5 separate regions of the Homo sapiens genome follow, and all the other regions are linked to region 2. Evidence: promoter capture Hi-C in human tissues and cell types (Jung and others, 2019). All regions are on one chromosome and are shown on one strand. The core of a region is centred on a gene start or on the middle of the fragment in contact, and the rest is flanking DNA. Distances in the headings are between cores, read along the strand shown. Region 1 has its middle 23 kb from the start of TNFSF14. Region 2 holds the start of DENND1C (DENN domain containing 1C). Region 3 holds the start of ACER1 (alkaline ceramidase 1). Region 4 has its middle 33 kb from the start of CD70. Region 5 holds the start of TNFSF14 (TNF superfamily member 14).

What was found. Contacts are between HindIII fragments. The study calls those that stand out against the background at their distance.
Region 1: a contact is called between a fragment that was not itself captured here and the fragment with the promoter of DENND1C in region 2, in 1 of the 25 tissues and cell types used here (spleen).
Region 3: a contact is called between the fragment with the promoter of ACER1 here and the fragment with the promoter of DENND1C in region 2, in 1 of the 25 tissues and cell types used here (lymphoblastoid cells).
Region 4: a fragment that was not itself captured here is called in contact with the fragment with the promoter of DENND1C in region 2 in 8 of the 25 tissues and cell types used here (dorsolateral prefrontal cortex, heart left ventricle, heart right ventricle and 5 more).
Region 5: a contact is called between the fragment with the promoter of TNFSF14 here and the fragment with the promoter of DENND1C in region 2, in 4 of the 25 tissues and cell types used here (adrenal gland, lymphoblastoid cells, mesenchymal stem cells and 1 more).

The regions. Positions count from the first base shown.
Region 1 is chr19:6,645,349-6,648,881 of GRCh38, forward strand. No RefSeq gene overlaps it. Among named protein-coding and RNA genes, the nearest start is that of TNFSF14, 23 kb to the right of the region's middle. The HindIII fragment of the contact is 4,731 bases long and covers 1-3,533 here.
Region 2 is chr19:6,479,752-6,483,549 of GRCh38, forward strand. DENND1C (DENN domain containing 1C) reads right to left here and starts at 2,036. Exons shown (of 23, transcript NM_024898.4): 1 at 1,928-2,036; 2 at 236-300; 3 at 108-151. The coding sequence starts at 1,944. RefSeq lists enhancers at 131-630, 2,227-2,521. The HindIII fragment of the contact is 27,793 bases long and covers 1-3,798 here.
Region 3 is chr19:6,332,171-6,336,004 of GRCh38, forward strand. It overlaps ACER1 (alkaline ceramidase 1), which reads right to left and starts at 1,442. Exons shown (of 6, transcript NM_133492.3): 1 at 1,289-1,442. The coding sequence starts at 1,381. The HindIII fragment of the contact is 13,348 bases long and covers 1-3,834 here.
Region 4 is chr19:6,622,081-6,625,623 of GRCh38, forward strand. No RefSeq gene overlaps it. Among named protein-coding and RNA genes, the nearest start is that of CD70, 33 kb to the left of the region's middle. The HindIII fragment of the contact is 5,411 bases long and covers 1-3,543 here.
Region 5 is chr19:6,668,509-6,671,832 of GRCh38, forward strand. TNFSF14 (TNF superfamily member 14) reads right to left here and starts at 1,652. Exons shown (of 4, transcript NM_001376887.1): 1 at 1,343-1,652. The coding sequence starts at 1,561. RefSeq lists enhancers at 172-261, 322-511, 1,412-1,501, 1,882-2,111 and a silencer at 2,682-2,781. The HindIII fragment of the contact is 26,746 bases long and covers 1-3,324 here.

The DNA.
Region 1 (3,533 bases), core at 292-2,791, 170 kb after region 2:
CATCATTGGTTAAATGCTGCTCCTTGTGGTGTTAATGATGGAAACTCTCTATTGCCTATAACTGACACCACAATTCTTTACACTGGCATTTACAATTTCCCCTTGCCCTGCCTCATTTTCCTCTGTGACCCCTGCCATGGTCACCCTCCACTGCAGCCTTAGACTAGCGATGGCCCTGAATTTCCTCCCTGTTCACTGAGATCTTCCTGATCCTCATCCAGCCTTCCATGGCCTCAGACCACTGAGCTCTCTCCCGTTGCAGAAATCCTGCAGAACATTTTTCCTGGACCCCTTACTGGGTGTAGGGGACCCCAGAATAACTCATGTCCAGGCTCCTTTTTTTGAGGATCCTCTGGGATGGGTGGAGGAGTCACAGCTGGACAAGATGCTTTTAGTTCTATGTGGTCAGGGCTGGAAGAATGGAGCCCCAGGGATGGAGCCCAGGAATGGAGGAGATGGGATGTGGGTGAGATTCAGAAAAAGCTTTATGGAGGAAGGCTGAGCTTATCTTTTTGTCTCCTTACCCCAAAACCTCCCTCCCAACTTTGATGCTGGAGCCTGCTGTTCCTTCTCTGATCAGAATCCTCTCTCTTCATGTCTCACCCCTGTCCTAACAGGGGTGCTATGAATCCACTCTTCTGGCCCCCACCATTAGATCACTGATGTGATCTAACCACATCAGTCTCCTGCTGAAAGACCTCCAATGTTTGAGATATATATATATATATATATATGAAACTTAATGGTTCCATTTCTCTGGAGAATCCTGACTAATACAGATTTTGGTACCAAGAGTTGTTCTAAACTGGGTGTGATGGCTCATGCTGGAAATCTCAGCATTCTGGGAGGCTGAGGCAGGAGGATCGCTTGAGGCCAGGAGTTCAAACCAGCCTAGGCAACACAGTGAGACCTCATCTCCAAAAAAATTTTTTTAATTAGCCAGGTGTGGCTGGGTGCGGTGGCTCATGTCTGTAATCACAGCACTTTGGGAGGCCGAGGTGGGCGGATGAAGAGGTCAAGAGATCGAGACCATCCTGGCCAACATCATGAAACCCCATCTCTACTAAAAATACAAAAATTAGCTGGGCATGGTGGCACGTGCCTGTAGTCCCAGCTACTCGGGAGGCTGAGAAGGGAGAATCACTTGAACCTAGGAGGTGGAGGTTGCAGTGAGCCGAGATAATGCCACTGCACTCCAACCTGGCAACAGAGCAAGACTCCATCTCACAAAAAAAAAAAAAAAAAAAAAAAAAAAAAAAATTAGCCAGGTGTGGAAGCGTGTACCTGTAGTTCTAGCTGTTTGGAAGGCTGAGATGGGAGAATCCCTTAAGCCAAAGAGTTTGAGGCTGCAGTGAGCGATGATTATGCCATTGCAATCCAGCCTGGGTCACAGAGTGAGACCCCAACTCAAAAAAAAAAAAAAAAAGTGGTTCTAGAGGAAGAATGAGCTTTCTGAATTGCTTCTCGTTCTTCTGAAATTGGCTCTCTAATCTGATTAAACTGAAAGAGGCTAATGACTCTTTACAGTAGTAAGAGAGCACTGGTGGTCCATGGCATGATCTGGCAATAGAGAGATGCAGATATCACCACTGTATACTCCTAATTAACTATCTATAAGAAGCAAAGATCTTGTCACTGTGTATTTGATACTTCTGAGAAGTTTTGAAAATCGAATGAATATAATGAGATTGGCTGGCTCCTCCTAATGTCACTGGATAGAGTGCTGAGAGAAGAGGATGAACTTAGGGATTTGAATTCCCAGCTCAAGCACTGCATAAGTAACCTGACATCTTCTATGTGTGCCCTAAAGGACATCCTTGTCTCCTGTAGCCTCAGGGCTGAGAGTGGTGAAAAGCAAACACAGAATCTTATTCTGTGATTGGCCGGATTTCAGGGCAAGTTGGACTCCCAGCTTCCAAGGATGTCTACTGATAAACTGAGGGCATTGATTAGTATCAATGGTATCCTGTAAGAATAGTATCCTGGAAACTGGAATTGGGATATGTGGGAAGACAAGGATGAAGTTGAGGACATGGAGCACCTAAATTCTGAGTCTTGTTTGCCGCTGGAAAGGCCTCTACCTTCCCCTCCTTGGTTCTGTTTCTCTGGAGAACCCTGACTAACATGACTGGCTTGAATCTGGATCCAAATGTAATCCCAGCACTTTGGGAGGCTGGCATGGTGGCTCACATCTGCAATCCCAGCACTTTGGGAGGTGAAGGAGAGCGGGTCACTTGAGCCCAGGAGTTCAAGACCAGCCTGGGCAACATAGCGAAACCCCGTCTCTACAGAAAATACAAAAATAAGCTGGGTGTGGTGGCGCATGCCTGTAATCCCAGCTACTTGGAAGGCTGAGGCAGGAGAATCACTTGAGGCAACATGGTTTTATACATACGTGAAGGAGATACACCTTCTACCCCTTGGAGATACCTTCAAAATATTCAAGGGGGCATGTGAAATGGGATGATATCTGAAACAATATCAAATTTAGAAAGAGGGTAGTTGATAAAGTCAGCAAGGCAGGACATTGAAACTATTGAATTTAAGTGATGGATTTATGGGTATTTCTTAGACTATTGTCCTCTCCTTTTGGAAGGAGAGGAAAGTTTGCACACTGGATTTGTTGGATGCATTTCCTACTAAAAAAAAATCAATAAATATTTTCCCTTTACACTCTCTACGCCTACTGCTGTTTTTTCTTAAGCTATTGGATACACTAGGTTGCTTGTCCTGTAGATTTTTCCAGTGTGATTTCACCCTTGCAGTGTCATTGCACGTATTCTTCTATCCCCTAACCCTGTAAACCAGAGCTTGGCAAATATTTTCTATAAAGGGCCCAATACTAAATACTTTTGGCTCTGTGAGTTATGCAGTCCCTGTCACGGCAACTTAATCCTTCCATTTAAGTGCAAAAGCTGTCATAGACAGTATACAAATAGACGGGAGTCACTGTAGACCAATAAAAATCTTTATGGATGCTGGAATTTTAATTGCATATACTTTTTGTGTTATAAAATATTATTCTTCTTTTGACTTAAAAATGTGAAACTATTCTTAACTTGTGAGCTGTACAAAAATTGGAGGTGGGGCAGGATTGTGTCCACGGGCCAGTTTGCTGACCCCTGCTGTAAGCTGGTAATCTGAACATAAGACTTGATCAGAGTCGGGTTCAATTCTGGGAGACAGAGGGAGATTTAAATACCCTGTAAGGGAGATTAAAACGCCCTGTGGGTGAAGCTAGACTCTGGGGAATTGGTTTTATTAAGGAAATGTCATTTCGTTGAACGTGATCATGGCGGCATGGTTTTATACGTACATGGAGGAGATATACCTTTTATCCCTTGGAGATACATTCAAAATATTCAAGGGGGGATGTGAAATGGGATGATATCTGAAATAATATCAAATTTAGAAAGAGGGTAGTTGATAAAGTCAGCGTGGCAGGACATTGAAACTATTGAAATGAAGTGATGAATTTATGGGAGTTTCTTAGACAATTTTCCTCTTTTTTGTGCATGTTCATAAATTGCCCT
Region 2 (3,798 bases), core at 786-3,285:
ACTGAGGTCGGGCACCACCTCCCTGGGCTCCAGGTCCAAGAAACCAAGTCCCCTCCCCCTGGGAGACTGGCCCTCGCCCTGGGGGAGCAAGGAGCCAGCCTGAATACCTGGTCCCTGAAGTCTGGAGGGAACTGCCGCAGGATGGGGGGATCTGTAGAAGAGAGCACGCCTCTAAGTTCAGCGACCCAGGCCCACCCTCCCCTCCCACTCCCTCACTCCCAGGCTCCCAACTCACCCTCCTGCAGGGAGGCAGGGCAGGCCGCTTCGAAGAACCAATCAAACACAGCAGGGGAGCCCCCTCTGTGGGATGCAGAAGGGGTCCAGAGACTTGCTTCTATGCATGTGTGGTTGTGTCTGCCACTTTGCACACAAGTGTGGTTGTGTGTGCATGTGCCACAAGGTGCGTCGGCATGTGCATGACTCTGGGGGTTTGTGGCTGTGAGTGTGTGGTTGTGTGAGGCTGTGTGTGCAGCAGTGTTAATTGAACACACAAGTACAGGATGGAGTGAGAAAGTGTGACTGTGTGTGTGTGGCTGTGTATGATTGTGTGTGGCTGAGTGCATGGCTTTTGTGAGCAGGCAGTGTGTGTGTGATCCTGTCTGCTGTCTGCCTGAAAAGATGAGACTGTCTCCTATATCTGTGGCATGAGACTGCACAGATATGAAGGACAGCCCGTGCAGTCCCAAGCTAAGTGAATTACATCTCTCTCTCTCTATATATATATCCATCTATCTGTCTGTCTGTCTGTCTCTGTCTATCCATCCATCCATCCATCCACCCACCCACCCACCTATCCATCCACCCACCCACCTATCTATCTATCTATCTATCTATCTATCTATCTATCTATCTATCTATCTATCTATTTTTTTGAGATGGAGTTTTGCTTTGTCACCCAGGCTGGAGTACAGTGGCACGATCTTGGCTCACTGCAACCTCCACCCCACAGGTTCAAGCGATTCTCCTGCCTCAGCCTCCCTGTAGCTGGGATTACAGGTGCCCGCCACCACGCCCAGCTAATTTTCATATTTTTAGTAGAGACAGGGTTTCACATACTGGCCAGGCTGTTCTCAAACTCCTGACCTCAGGTGATCTGCCCGCCTCAGCCTCCCAAATTGCTGGGATTACAGGCTTGAGTCACTGCATCTAGCCATGCCATCTATATTTTCTTGTATAGATGTGAGTGTGTGTGCCCGAGCAAGTGAATGACATCTATATTTTCCTGTACAGCTGTGAGTGTCACTGGGTAACCGCGTGGGATCCTTGTGGGCTGGCTGTGTGTCTCTGTGTGTGAGACCCCATAGAACCCTCGTGGCTGGTCCCACATGTCTCATCAGAGAAAGGAGGGCAGGATACCTAGGTACTTACTGTAAGCCCTGCAATCTCTGCTTTCCTCCTCTGCCCCCATATCAAGCAGAAGAGGCAGCCTTGGGCTCAAGGAGAGAGACAGGGAGATCTAGAGGGAGATCAGCTGCACACACACTGTCCCGCCCAGTTGCACACACAGTCCCCACCATGGGTACCCCAGCACTTCACCCTCACGCCGACACAAGTCACACACGATCACCCACTCATACCAACACCCAGCCTCCCCTCTGCCCTGATCATCCGCCCTGTGGACCCCCTGAAGCCATCACTCAGACATACCAAGGACAAAGCTCAGAGGGGTACATGCATTCACAGAGCTATAGACATAATCACAGGAGCTGGATAGAGAGAGAGAGAGAGAGAGAGAGGAGGGGACCGAGAGTGGCCTGTCCCAGAGTGAAGGTCATAGCGGAGGCCCATGGAGTATCTGATTCCAGCCACCTGCCCTGGCAGGTCACTGCACCTCCCGGGCCTGCTCCAGCCCCAGCTCCCCTCTGCCCCGGCTCAGGCCTGGCCCGGGAATCTTGTACCAGAGAATGAGGGATGGGGTGGCTCTTACTCAGCTCTGGATTCCATGGTCCCTGCAGGGCCAGCCCAGCGGGGCCCTCTCCCCAGGGGTCCTGGGGGCCTGTGTATGCTGGGCCCCAAGCCGGCTCAGCTTCCTGTGTGGCTGAGAGAGGAAGTTTAACGGGTGACGTCCCCGGACAGAGGCCCTGCCCCCACCCCCGTGAGAAACCCAGGCATCCTGCCTGCTAATTATGTTGGGGATGGGTGGGCAATAAGTGGTCAGCCTGGGAAGGCAGACCCCCAGCTCCGTCCCCGCCAGGCTGGACTGTGTCTGGTTCCCCCCATCGTGCCTGGGCCCTCATCTCTCCTTCCCCGCTCCGCAGCAGCCAAGATTCACAGTCTGTCTATTAATGAAATGCCTCCCCGTCTCTTTCCCTTGGTCCATTTGGCCTGGACGGTCACTGGTGGACCACCAGAGGGAGCCACCTGTAAAGTGGACGGTGGGGGGGCCAGGGATGGGGACAAAGAGCACGAAGTACAGGCACAGGGACGGACAGACAGACACAGACACAGACAGTTACACGCTCAGGAAGTCATCAGCACAGACAAACCGAGTGCAGAAGAGCCAGAGACGACAGACATGGAGAGATAGGGAGTCCTACAGCTGGATCATAGTCCCAGGCCGGGCACAGTGGCTCACGCCTATAATCCCAGCACTTTGAGAGGCCAAGGTGGGAGGACCGCTTGAGCCCAGGAGTTCGAGACCAGCCTGGGAAACATGGCGAAACCCTGTGTCTATAAAAGCTACAAAAATTATAGCTGGCGGTGGTGGCACGCACCTATAGTCCCAGCTTACCCAGGAGGCTGAGTCAGGAGGATCGCCTGAGCCTGGGGAGTTTGAGGCCATAGTGAACCAAGATTGCACTACTGTACTCCAGCCTGAGCAACAAAGTGAGATCCTGTCTCAAAAAAAAAAAAAAACAACTTAGTCACAGTTACACACCCATTGTGCGCAGAAAGACAAGGTAAGCGGATCACTTGAGGTCAGGAGTTTGCAACCAGCCTGGCCAACATGGTGAAACCCTGTCTCTAATTAAAAAAAAATACAGGCCAGGTGCGGTGGCTCACATCTGTAATCCCAGCACTTTGGGAGGCTGAGGCAGGTGGATCACGAGGTCAGGAGTTCGAGACCAGCCTGGCCAAGATGGTGAAACCCAGTCTCTACTAAAAATACAAAGATTAGCCAGGCACGGTGGTGGGCATCTGTAATCCCAGTTACTCAGGAGGCTGAGGCAGAATTATTTGAACCTGGGAGGCGGAGTTTGCAGTGAGCCGATATCGCGCCGCTGTACTCTAGCCTGGGCGACAGAGCAGGACTCTGTCTCAAAAAATCAAAAACAAACAAACAAACAAAAAATTAGCTGGGCATGGTGGCATGTGCCTGTAATCCCAGCTGCTTGGGAGGCTGAAGCAGGAGAATCACTTGAATCCGGGAGGCAGAGGTTGCAGTGAGCCGAGATCGTGCCACTGCACTCCAGCCTGGGTGAAAGAGTGAGACTCCATCTCAAAAACAAAAACAAAAACAAAGCAAACAAACAAACAAACAAATGCAGAGACAGACAGAGACACAATAAACAGTTACACAGAGACCACAGCCATTGATACAAACAGAATAACAGAGAAATAGACCCAGATAGATGGAAACACAGCACAGACATAGCTCAAGTAATAACCAGATATAGTTATAGCCAAGACCCGGCCACATGCAGAGAGAGACACAGCTGGACTCACATGACAGCCAGATACTCATGACAGCCCGACACACTCAAGCCGTGCTGCAGACTATGAAAGACACAGGGGCTGGAGGCAGTGGCTCAGTAATCCCAGCACCTTGGGAGGCTGAGGTAGGATTGTTTGAGGCCA
Region 3 (3,834 bases), core at 192-2,691, 150 kb before region 2:
TGGCCAGGCTGGTCTCGAACTCCTGACCTCAGGTGATCCACTCACCTTGGCCTCGCAAAGTGCTGTGATTACAGGCGTGAGCCTCCGCGCCCGGCCTTTTTTTTTTTTTTTTTTTTTTGAGACAGGGTCTCCCTCTGTCACCCAGGCTGGAGTGCAGTGGTATGACCTCAGCTCACTGCATCCTCCACTTCTTGGGTTCAAGAAATCCTCCCCCCTCAGCCTCCCAAGTAGCTGGAACTACAAGCACACACCACCACACCCAGCTAATTTTTAAAAACTTTTTGTAGAGACAGGGTCTTGCTATGTTGCCCAGGCTGGTCTGGAACTCCTGGGCTCAAGCGATCTTCCTGCCTCTGCGTTCCAAATTGCTGGGGTTACAGGCATGAGCCATGGTGCTAGGTACATCCATGATTTTTTAGCACTTCCCATGTGGTGTTTTAACAGGGAAAGAGAAGACCACCTCAGAATGTCCAGAACTGAGGAGTTTCTCAGGAGGTGGGACTTTTTTTCTTCTTTTTTTGAGACAGTCTCGCTTTTTCACCCAGGCTGGAGTGCAGTGGCACAATCTCAGCTCACTGCAACCTCCGCCTCCTGGGTTCAAGCGATTCTCATGCCGTAGCCTCCTGAGTAGCTTGGACTACAGATGCCTGACACCGTACCCAGCTAATTTTTTATTTTAGTAGAGATGGGCTTTCACCACGTTGCCCAGGGCGATCTCCAACTCCTGAGCTCAGGCAATCCACCCACCTTGGCCTTCCAAAGTGCTAGGATTACAGACGTGAGCCACCGCGCCCAGCCAAGAGGTGAAACTTTTTAAATACTGAAACCAGGATAGTCCCAGGCACACTGGGACAAGTTGGTCAGTGGGTACAGCTGCAAACAAGACAGACACAATCACCTCTTCCAGGAAGCCTTTCCTGATTGGCCCACCCCCTCTAGCTCAGGGGCACCCTCTGCCTCCCCCTACCACAGCTGCCTCTGTGCCCTCCAAGAAGGCACCATCGCTCCCGGTTGCAAATGCCTGCAGTCACATCAGAGTTAGCTTAGGGAAGGCAGAGACCGGTTCTTTTCCTGGCCACCAATGTGTCTCCAAAACCTACCACAGAGCTTGGCATCAAGTAAAGACAAGTAAATGAATGAAAGCTGGCACTCTTTGGCTAACAGATGAGAAAACTAGGGCTGAGACAGGTGAACCACTCCAGCAAGATTCCCCAGTAAGGCTGTATGGGGAGGAACCGGGATTCGAACCGGCATCTGGCGAGACTCCTTCACACACCCACGCACTCACCGTGTTGTAGAACTCGGCCACCAGCTCCGAGTACTGGAAGTTGCTCTCACACCAGTCCACCTCGGAGCTCTGATAGGCGAAGATGCTAGGCATCTTGTCTCAGTGGCCACCACCAGCCGGCTGCGCCCGGCAGAGAGAAGGCGAGCTTGGGAAGGCTGGGCCCTGATGAGGCGGGGAGAGGACAGCCCGGTGCCCCGCGGCAGGCAGACTGGGAGGAAAAACCTGCTGGGCCGCTCCCCAGTTGCACCAGGGCAGCCTGGCTGTGCAGTGACAGCAGCCCTGAGCATAAGCCGTGGGACTGGCACTGTCCAGGCAGGGCAGGGGGCAGAAGTAGGCAGGGAAGAGGCCTCCCATCCAGATTACCCAGGAATAGGAATCGGGGTGGGGGCAGTGGAGGGAACTGTTTTTATCTTTTATGTATGTATGTATTTATTTATTAGAGTCAGGGCCTTGCTCTGTTGCTCAGGCTGGGGTACAGTGGCATCATCATAGCTCACCGCAGCCTCAAACTCCCAGGCTCAAGCAATACTCCTGCCTCAGCCTCTGAAGTAGCCAGGACCACAGGCACATGCTGCCACCATGCCTAGCTAATTGTTTTTTTTTTTGGAGACAGAGTCGCTCTGTTGCCCAGGCTGGAGTGCAGTGGCATGATCTCAGCTCACTGCAAGCTCTGCCTCCCGTGTTCACGCCATTCTCCCGCCTCAGCCTCCCGAGTAGCTGGGACTACAGGCGCCCACCGCCACGACCGGCTAATTTTTTGTATTTTTAATAGAGATGGAGTTTCACTGTGTTAGCCAGGATGGTCTCGATCTCCTGACCTCGTGATCCACCTGCCTTGGCCTCCCAAAGTGCTGGGATTATAGGTGTGCGTGAGCCACCGTGCCCGGCCTTTTTTTTTAAAATTGAGATGCAGTCTGGCTCTGTCACCCAGGCTGGAGTGTAGTGGCGCAATGTCAGCTCACTGCAACCTCCACCTCCTGGGTTCAAGCGATTCTCCTACCTCAGCCTCCCAAGTAGCTGGGATGACTGGCACCTGCCACCATGCCCAGCTAATTTTTTTTGTATTTTAGTAGAGATAGGATTTCACCATGTTGGTCAAGCTGGTCTCGAACTCCTGACCTCAGGTGATCTGCCCACCTTGGCCTCCCAAGGTGCCGGGATTATACGCATGAGCCACCTCACCTGGCCTGAGTTCCTCTACTTTAAGCTGTGTGACCTTGGGCAAGTGAATTTACCTCTCTGATCCTCTGTTTGCTCACCTGTCATATGGAGACGATGGTGACAGAGCCAACTGTAACAAAGGAAGACAGAGATAAAGCATGTACAAAGGCTTAGCCCACTGCCTATGCTAGAGTAGGCACTTGATGGATGGTAATGGGTTTTCTTTTTTTTTTTGAGATGGAGTCTTGCTCTGTCCCAAAGTGCTGGGATTACAGGGTTTTCTTACTGAAGCTGACCTTGAACTTTAAGTCAACTTTGTGGGAATAATAATAATTATTATTATTATAATAAAAGAGCCTGGCCTTAGCAAGCGGTTAGCAAGTGTGCATAACAATAATAATATAATTATTTATTATATAATAGCAATATTATATTAAAATATAAAATTATTATATTAAAAATACTATTGTTATATAATATTTTAAATATTTTAGTATATTATTTTAATGTGATTAATATAATTTAATATAATAATTAATATTATATATTATATAATTTTTCTTTTTTTAAGTGCTTGATTTTCAGTATTATCTCATTTAACGTTCTTTTTTTTTTTTTTTTTTGAGATGGAGCCTCACTCTGTCTCCCAGGCTGGAGTGCAGTGGCATGATCTTGGCTCACTGCAACCTCCACCTCCCTAGTTCAAGCAATTCTCCTGCCTCAGCCTCCTGAGTAACTGGGACTACAGGCACCTGCCACCATGCCCAGCTAATTTTTGTATTTTTAGTAGAGACGGGGTTTCACCATATTGACCAGGCTGGCCTCAAACTCCTGACCTTGTGATCTGCCCGTCTCGACTTCCCAAAGTGCTGGGATTACAGGCGTGAGCCACTGTGCCCGGCCTTCATTTAATGTTCTTAACAATCCTACCCCGGGTGCTGTGGCTCACGCCTGTAATCCTAGTGCTTTGGGAGACCAAGGCGGGAGGATCACAAGGTCAGGAGATTGAGACCATCCTGGCTAACACAGTGAAACCCCATTTCTACTAAAAATACAAAAAAGGTAGCTGGGCGTGATGGTGGGTGCCCATAGTCCCAGCTACTCAGGAGGCTGAGGCAGGAGAATGGCATGAACCCAGGAGACGGAGCTTGCAGCGAGCCAAAATTGCACCACTGCACTCCAGCCTGGGTGACAGAGAAAGACTCTGTCTAAAAAAAAAAGAAAAAATCCTAAGCGCCAGGAACTATTGTTATCCCTTTTCTTTTTCTTTTTTTTCTTTTTCTTTTCTTTTTTTTTTTGAAATAGAGTTTCACTCTTGTCACCCAGGCTGGAGTGCAATGGCATGATCTCAGCTCACTGCAACCTCTGCCTCCCAGGTTCCAGCG
Region 4 (3,543 bases), core at 902-3,401, 140 kb after region 2:
GATTACAGGCATGCGCCACCACGCCGACTAATTTTGTATGTTTAGTAGAGACCGGGTTTCTCCACATTGGTCAGGGTGGTCTTGAACTCCTGACCTCAATGATCCGCCTGTTTCGGTCTCCCAAAGTGCTGGGATTACAGATGTGAGCCATTGCACCCAGCCTAGAGAATCTTACAGATGCCACAAACAAATCTCTTAGAATTAATAAACAAATTCAATTGCAAGATTCAACATCAATGTAGACAATTCAGTGTGTTTCTACACACTGACAACAATCTATCTGAAAAAATAATCAATAAAGCAATCCCATTTAAAATAGAATAAAAAATGCTCAGGAATTAATTTATCCAAGGAAGTAAAAGATCCGTTTACAAAAAAAAAATTGATCAAAGAAATTGTAGAAGACACAAATGAATGAAAAGATATCCCATGTTCATGGATTGAAGGAATTAATATTGTTAAAATGTCCATGCTACACAAAGTGATCCACAGATTCTATGCAAATCCCTATCAAAATTTCAGGGGTATTTTTCATAGAAATAGAAACAAAATTCTAAAATTTAACCACAAAAGACTTTGAATAATAAACACAATTCAGCAAGAAAAACAAAGCTGAAGGCATCAGTTCTGGATTTCAAACTATATTACAAATCTATAGTAATCAAGACAGTATGTTACTGGAATGACAGCAGACACACAGACCAATGGAACAGAATAAAAAGTCCAGAAGTAAACTCACACATGTACAGTCAATGAATTTCAGACAAAAGTGCTGAGAACACACAATGGGAAAAGGAGAGCTCTTTGATAAATGATGCTGGGAAAAATAGATATCCACATGCAGAAGAATGAAATTAGACCCTCATCTTGTTACTGAAACACCAGGGATATGGTCTAGGTCTGCTGCTTGCCACACAGAAAGCCAATGGCTGAGGTGATGAGTATTGCCAGGGAAGAAGGCTTTAATTGGGTGCTGCAGCTGAGGAGGTGGGAGATCAGTCTTGAATCCATCCCCTTGACTGACTAAAATTAGGGGTTTATGTAGCTGGGAAGAAATGTAATGATGTGTGGGAAAATGGGAACTTGGGAGGCATAAGGAAGTAATCGTGATGAATGAGGGGTCTGGATGTGATGATCTGGTGAGTTTCAGTTCTTTGATATTTTTTGAGATGCCTGGGTTGGGGTGGGGAGGTTCCTTCTTGAAGAAGAAGAAATTCAGATAAAACAAACATAAGTTTCAAGGTTTAAGACTGGAAGTGTCCATTTCTATTTATCAAAAACAAAACAGTCTATGGGACTATTGGGTCAGTTTCAGTCCCCTCTATTTATCAATTTTTTTAATCATGGGGAATCTGACCATTGATCTTTCTGGCTGCTTCATGCTGAGGAGGTGACCATGTGGCCACCTTCTGAAACACAATCATTCTCTGTCCAGCCACCACTGCCCCCACCAAAGACAAGTCAAAGCAGGATGAACCTACCTGCAAAATAAGCTTCAGTCCATGGCTGGGCATGGTGGCTTCTGCCTGTAATCCCAGCAGTTTGGGAGGCCAAGGCAGGTGGATCACTTGAGGCCAGGAGTTGGAGACCCAGGAGATGGAGGTTGCAGTGAGCCAGTCTGGGTGACAGAGTGAGACTCTGTCTAAAAAATAAAAAATAAAAAAGCTTTGGTCCCATATACTTGGCCTGATTACCCCCAAAAAGTGCAGCAAAAATCATTGTCCACATAGATCCTTCTAAATTGGCCTTGCTGGAACCTCACACTGTTCCATTATAAAAGAAAATAGGTTCTTACTCAAATTATGCCAAGAAACACATTGACATATCAGAATTTTAGGAATCTCATACAATCCTAGAACATATATTAACAACTCATCTATATAAATATAACCCTAAGGGCCAGGCGTGGTGGCTCACGCCTGTAATCCCAGCACTCTGGGAGGCCGAGGCAGGCGGATCACGAGGTCAGGAGTTTGAGACCAGCCTGGCCAGTATGGTGAAACCCTGTCTCTACTAAAAATACAAAAATTAGCCGGGCATGGTGGCACGTGCCTGTAATCTCAGCTACTTGGGAGGGTGAGGCAGAAGAATTGCTTGAACCTGGGAGGCAGAGGTTGCAGTGAGCCAAGATTGAGCCACTGTACTCCAGTCTGGGCGACAGAGTGAGACTCCATCTCAAAAATAAAATATAACCCGAAGGAAGCTAAACACCACCTTGGATCTGACAATGTTTCCTGCATGATTCTAAAATAACAAATTAACCTAAGATATCTCTCTTGGACTTGAGGGAACCTAATATCCAAAAAAGTTAGTTTGAGGTCAAAAAGACTGAATTTAGACCTTTAAATTGTGCTCCTAGAAATTTTGCCAATTACAAAAATTTTAAAACACTTGATATCACAAAACATGATCACAGGTCACAATAAAATAGTCATTTATGGCCGGGTGCAGTGGCTCACACCTGTAATCCCAGCACTTTGGGAGGCCAAGGCAGGCAGATCATCTGAGGTCAGGTGTTCAAGACCAGCCTGGCCAACATTGTAAAACCGCGTCTCTACTAAAAATACAAAAATTAGCCAGGTGTGGTGGCACGTGCCTGTTAATCCCAGCTACTTGAGAGGCTGAGGCAGGAGAACTGCTTGAACCTGGAGGCAGAGGTTGCAGTGAGCTGAGATTGGGCCACTGCACTCCAGCCTGGGCGACAAGAATGAAATTCTGTCCCAAAAAAAAAAAAAAAGAAAAAAAGGAAAACACAAGTCATTTATTTAGCCAAAATGATAAAACAAAAATATTTACCTTTTAATAGGAGATACAGTTTCTCAAACAATAAGACAGCATGAGACCAAACAAATCTGTCCCTCTCCAATCCATTTTTTCCCTCCAGTTTACTTAAACAAAACTATTTTCTCTCTTATTAATATTATACAAATTTTGTTCAAAAGAGAAAACCCAAATTTTACCTTTATATGGTGTATTTATTAATGTTAAAGATAATTTTAATAAAACTTTATCAATAAATCTATCTAATTTTCATTGGTTTGACCATAGGGTAAGATTTTGATAAACTTTTTATAAGCTTTCATGATTTTCTATTAAAAAGAACAGATCAATGCTCCACAAAAACCCTTACTCCTGACACATGGGCTCAGACCCTCACCTTGCATCAGTGTGCTTTTGATATTAACGTTTAATTTATAAGAAAAACTCTGAACTAATTTTATCCCTCAAAATTGGCCCTTATAATCTCACACACCCACCTCATCCGTGATAGTTCCTGGGCCTAGAGGGATTGAATAGTTTTGGTTTTTTTTCTTTTTTTTTTTTTGAGACAGAGTCTCGCTCTGTTGCCAGGCTAGAATGCAGTGGCACAATATTGGCTCATTGCAACCTCTGCCTCCCCAGTTCAAGCGATTCTCCTACCTCAGCCTCCTGAATAGCTGGGACTACAGGCACCCGCCACCACTCCTGGCTAATTTTTGTATTTTTAGTAGAGACGAGATTTAACCATGTTGGCCAGGATGGTCTCGATCTCTTGCCCTCGTG
Region 5 (3,324 bases), core at 402-2,901, 190 kb after region 2:
AAGTCTGGCCAACATGGTGAAACCCCGTCTGTACTAAAAATACACAAATTAGCCAGGCACGGTGGCGGATGCCTGTGATCCCAGCTACTGCTCAGGAGGCTGAGACAAGGGAATCACTTGAACCTGGGAGGTGGGGTTGTAGTGAGCCAAGACTGCACCACTACACTACAGCCTGGGCTATGGGAGAGAAACCTTGTCTCAAAAAAAAAAAAATGCAGACAGCGAGATGGCTGGACACATGGACACCACCCTTGGGATATAGCACCTGCCACAGGGCACAGACCTCAACATCATCATGACGCTGAGAAGACACATGTGGGCTCAGATGCGTGGACATGTGGTTTGTGGTTTATGGATCCATGTGCGTCTACAGACACAGAGACCCAGAGACAAAGACAGACAACGTGAATACACCGGCTGCAGCTAGGCGGGTGTGTGGACATGTGGGTACACGCACATACGTCCACATGGGTATATGGACACGAATGTGTGGCCACCGGATCCAGACCCAGGACACAAAAGGGGCCAAGCCCACAGGGGTATGGTGTTGGGCACACATAGACCCCCAGGTGAGGCACACAGACAGGCGGACACATCCACAGCCAGCTGGAAGCAGACCGAGAAATTTCCACAGATGGAAATGGTCAGAGAATTAATGACAATCGCAGTAACAGTAATAAGAGTACCAGAGAAGGCCAGGCGCAGTGGCTCACACCTGTAATCCCAGCACTTTGGGAGGCTGAGGCGGGTGGATCTCCTGAGGTCGGGAGTTTGAGACCAGCCTGACAAACATAGAGAAGCCCCATCTCTACTAAAAATACAAAATTGGCCAGGCGTGGTGGCGCATGCCTGTAATCCCAGCTACTCGGGAGGCTGAGGCAGGAGAATCACTTGAACCCGGGAGGCAGAGGTTGCGGTGAGCAGAGATCATGCCATTGCACTCCAGCCTGGGCAACGAGAGTGAAACTCCGTCTCAAAAATAAAAAAGTACAGAGAAAATGCATGCGTGTGTGCACAGGGGTGTGCATGGCAGTGTTGGGGTGTCAGTTCCGACGGGTGGAGCTGGCATCGTCTGGTACTACACATGCCATAGCATACTTCGTCCCCTATGAAGAGACTGCCCTTATTTTGTAGATGAAGACACTGAGGTTCAGAGAGGTGAATTCACTTGCCCAAGGCTGGGAGCAGCAACCAGTCAAGCCAGCTGCTCTCAGCCTGTGCCCTGTCCTACACACACACACACACACACACACACACACACACACAGACACACAGTGACCCACAATGACACAGGGGAGCCCCCCTCACCTCCACCTGCTCTCAGCCCCCCGGTCCCACTCACAGGCAGGCGGGTGACCATCTCTCCTAGACGCCAGTGCAGCTGCAGGAGGAACCAGCCTTGGACGGCCAGCCCGGCCCCCATCAGCAACAGCAAGAGACCCAGACCCACCCGGGCCACACTGCACGACTGTCTCCGGTGGCTTCGTCCCAGCCTCGTGAATGGGATGTCGGTCTGTCCATCCACCACAAACACTGAGGGCCGTACGACACTCTCCTCCATGCCCAAGGTGTCTGGAGCAGGGCTGACACGCCTGGGTCCTTCAACCTCAGAGGAAACCGAAATTGCTCAACACTCCTGGGCTGTGCACGCTGCGGACAGGCACCCGTGGGCCGCCTTTAGAGCTGGGGTTCAGCCCCACCCCTTCCCCCACTCACCCTCCTCTTCTTCCGGTACCCGCCGCCCCCGGTCTTGGCCCTGTCTCACTCTCACTCATACAGACTCTCACACTTTCCAGAGGCTTCTGAAAATGTGACTCAGGTGGCAAGTGCAGTGGGGAGCCCCCAGCTTTCCCTTCTTGGATGCTTCATTCGCTTGGGGCCACCAAATATCGACTGAGGACTTTCTGCCCATGCCAGGCTCTGCTCTCGGTGTGGGGGATGCAGCAATGAACAACAGCAAGAAGGGTCCCTGCTCCTCTTCTGGTGGAGCCAGAGAGACAAGAAACCTCGTAAACAAGAAAATAATACGTTGTGGGTTTTTTTGTTCGTTTATTTGTTTTGTTTTTGAGATGGAGTCTCGCTCTGTTGCCCAGGCTGGAGTGCAGTGGCGCGATCTCAGCTTACTACAACCTCCACCTCCTGGGTTCAAGCAATTCTCCTGCCTCAGCCTCCCAAGTAGCGGGGATTACAGGCGCGTGCCACCACGCCTGGCTGCTTTTTGTATTTTTAGTAGAGATGGGTTTTCACCATGTCGGTCAGGCTGGTCTCGAACTCCTGACCTCAAGCGATCCACCCACCTCAGCCTCCCAAAGTGCTGGGATTACAAACGTGAGCCGCACCATGCCCGGCCTTCTGTTGTGTTTTGATGTGACAAGTGCAGTGAAAAACACAAGAGTGGAATAAAGGAGTGGATGTGTGCTCTGTGTGTGTGCTTGTCTGCATGCATATATGTGTGCAGTGTGTGCATGTGAATGTGTGTATTCAGTTGTGTGCATGCAAGTGTGTATCATGTACACATGTGCAGGCGCATGCCTGTGTATCATACATGTGCTGGCATGTAAATGTGCGTGCATATGTGGGCAGGTGCATGCATATGTGTATGGTCATCTGTGTGCATGTGCATGTGGTCCATGTACATGCATGCATGTGCACGTGTGTGTATGTGTGAACATGCATCACATGTGCAAGTGGGTGTGCATATATGTGCTGTGTGCAGGTGTGTGCATGTGTGTGTGCCTGTGCATTGGTGCGTGTATGTGTGTGTGCGCACTTGCACGGGTGTGTTCATGTGTGTGGGGAGGTCCATGTATGAGTGTGCATGCATTCAAGCGTGGATTTTTTTTTTTTTCGAGACGGAGTCTCGCTCTGTCGCCCAGGCTGGAGTGCAGTGGTGCGATCTCGGCTCACTGCAAGCTCCGCCTCCCAGGTTCACGCCATTCTCCTGCCTCAGCCTCCTGAGTAGCTGGGACTACAGGCGCCCACCACCGCACCCAGCTAATTTTTTGTATTTTTAGTAGAGACGGGGTTTCACCGTGTTAGCCAGGATGGTCTCAATCTCCTGACCTCGTGATCCGCCTGCCTTGGCCTCCCAAAGTGCTGGGATTACAGGCATAAGCCACCGCACCCAGCCTTTTTCTTTCTTTTTTTTTTTGAGGCAGAGTCTCACTTTGTCACCCAGGCTGGAGTGCAGTGGTGCCATTTTGGCTCACTGCAACCTCTGCCTCCCGGATTCAAGCAATTTTCCTGCCTCAGCCTCCTGAGTAGCTGGGATTACAGGCGCCCACCACCATGCATAGCTAATTTTTGTATTATATGTTGGCCATT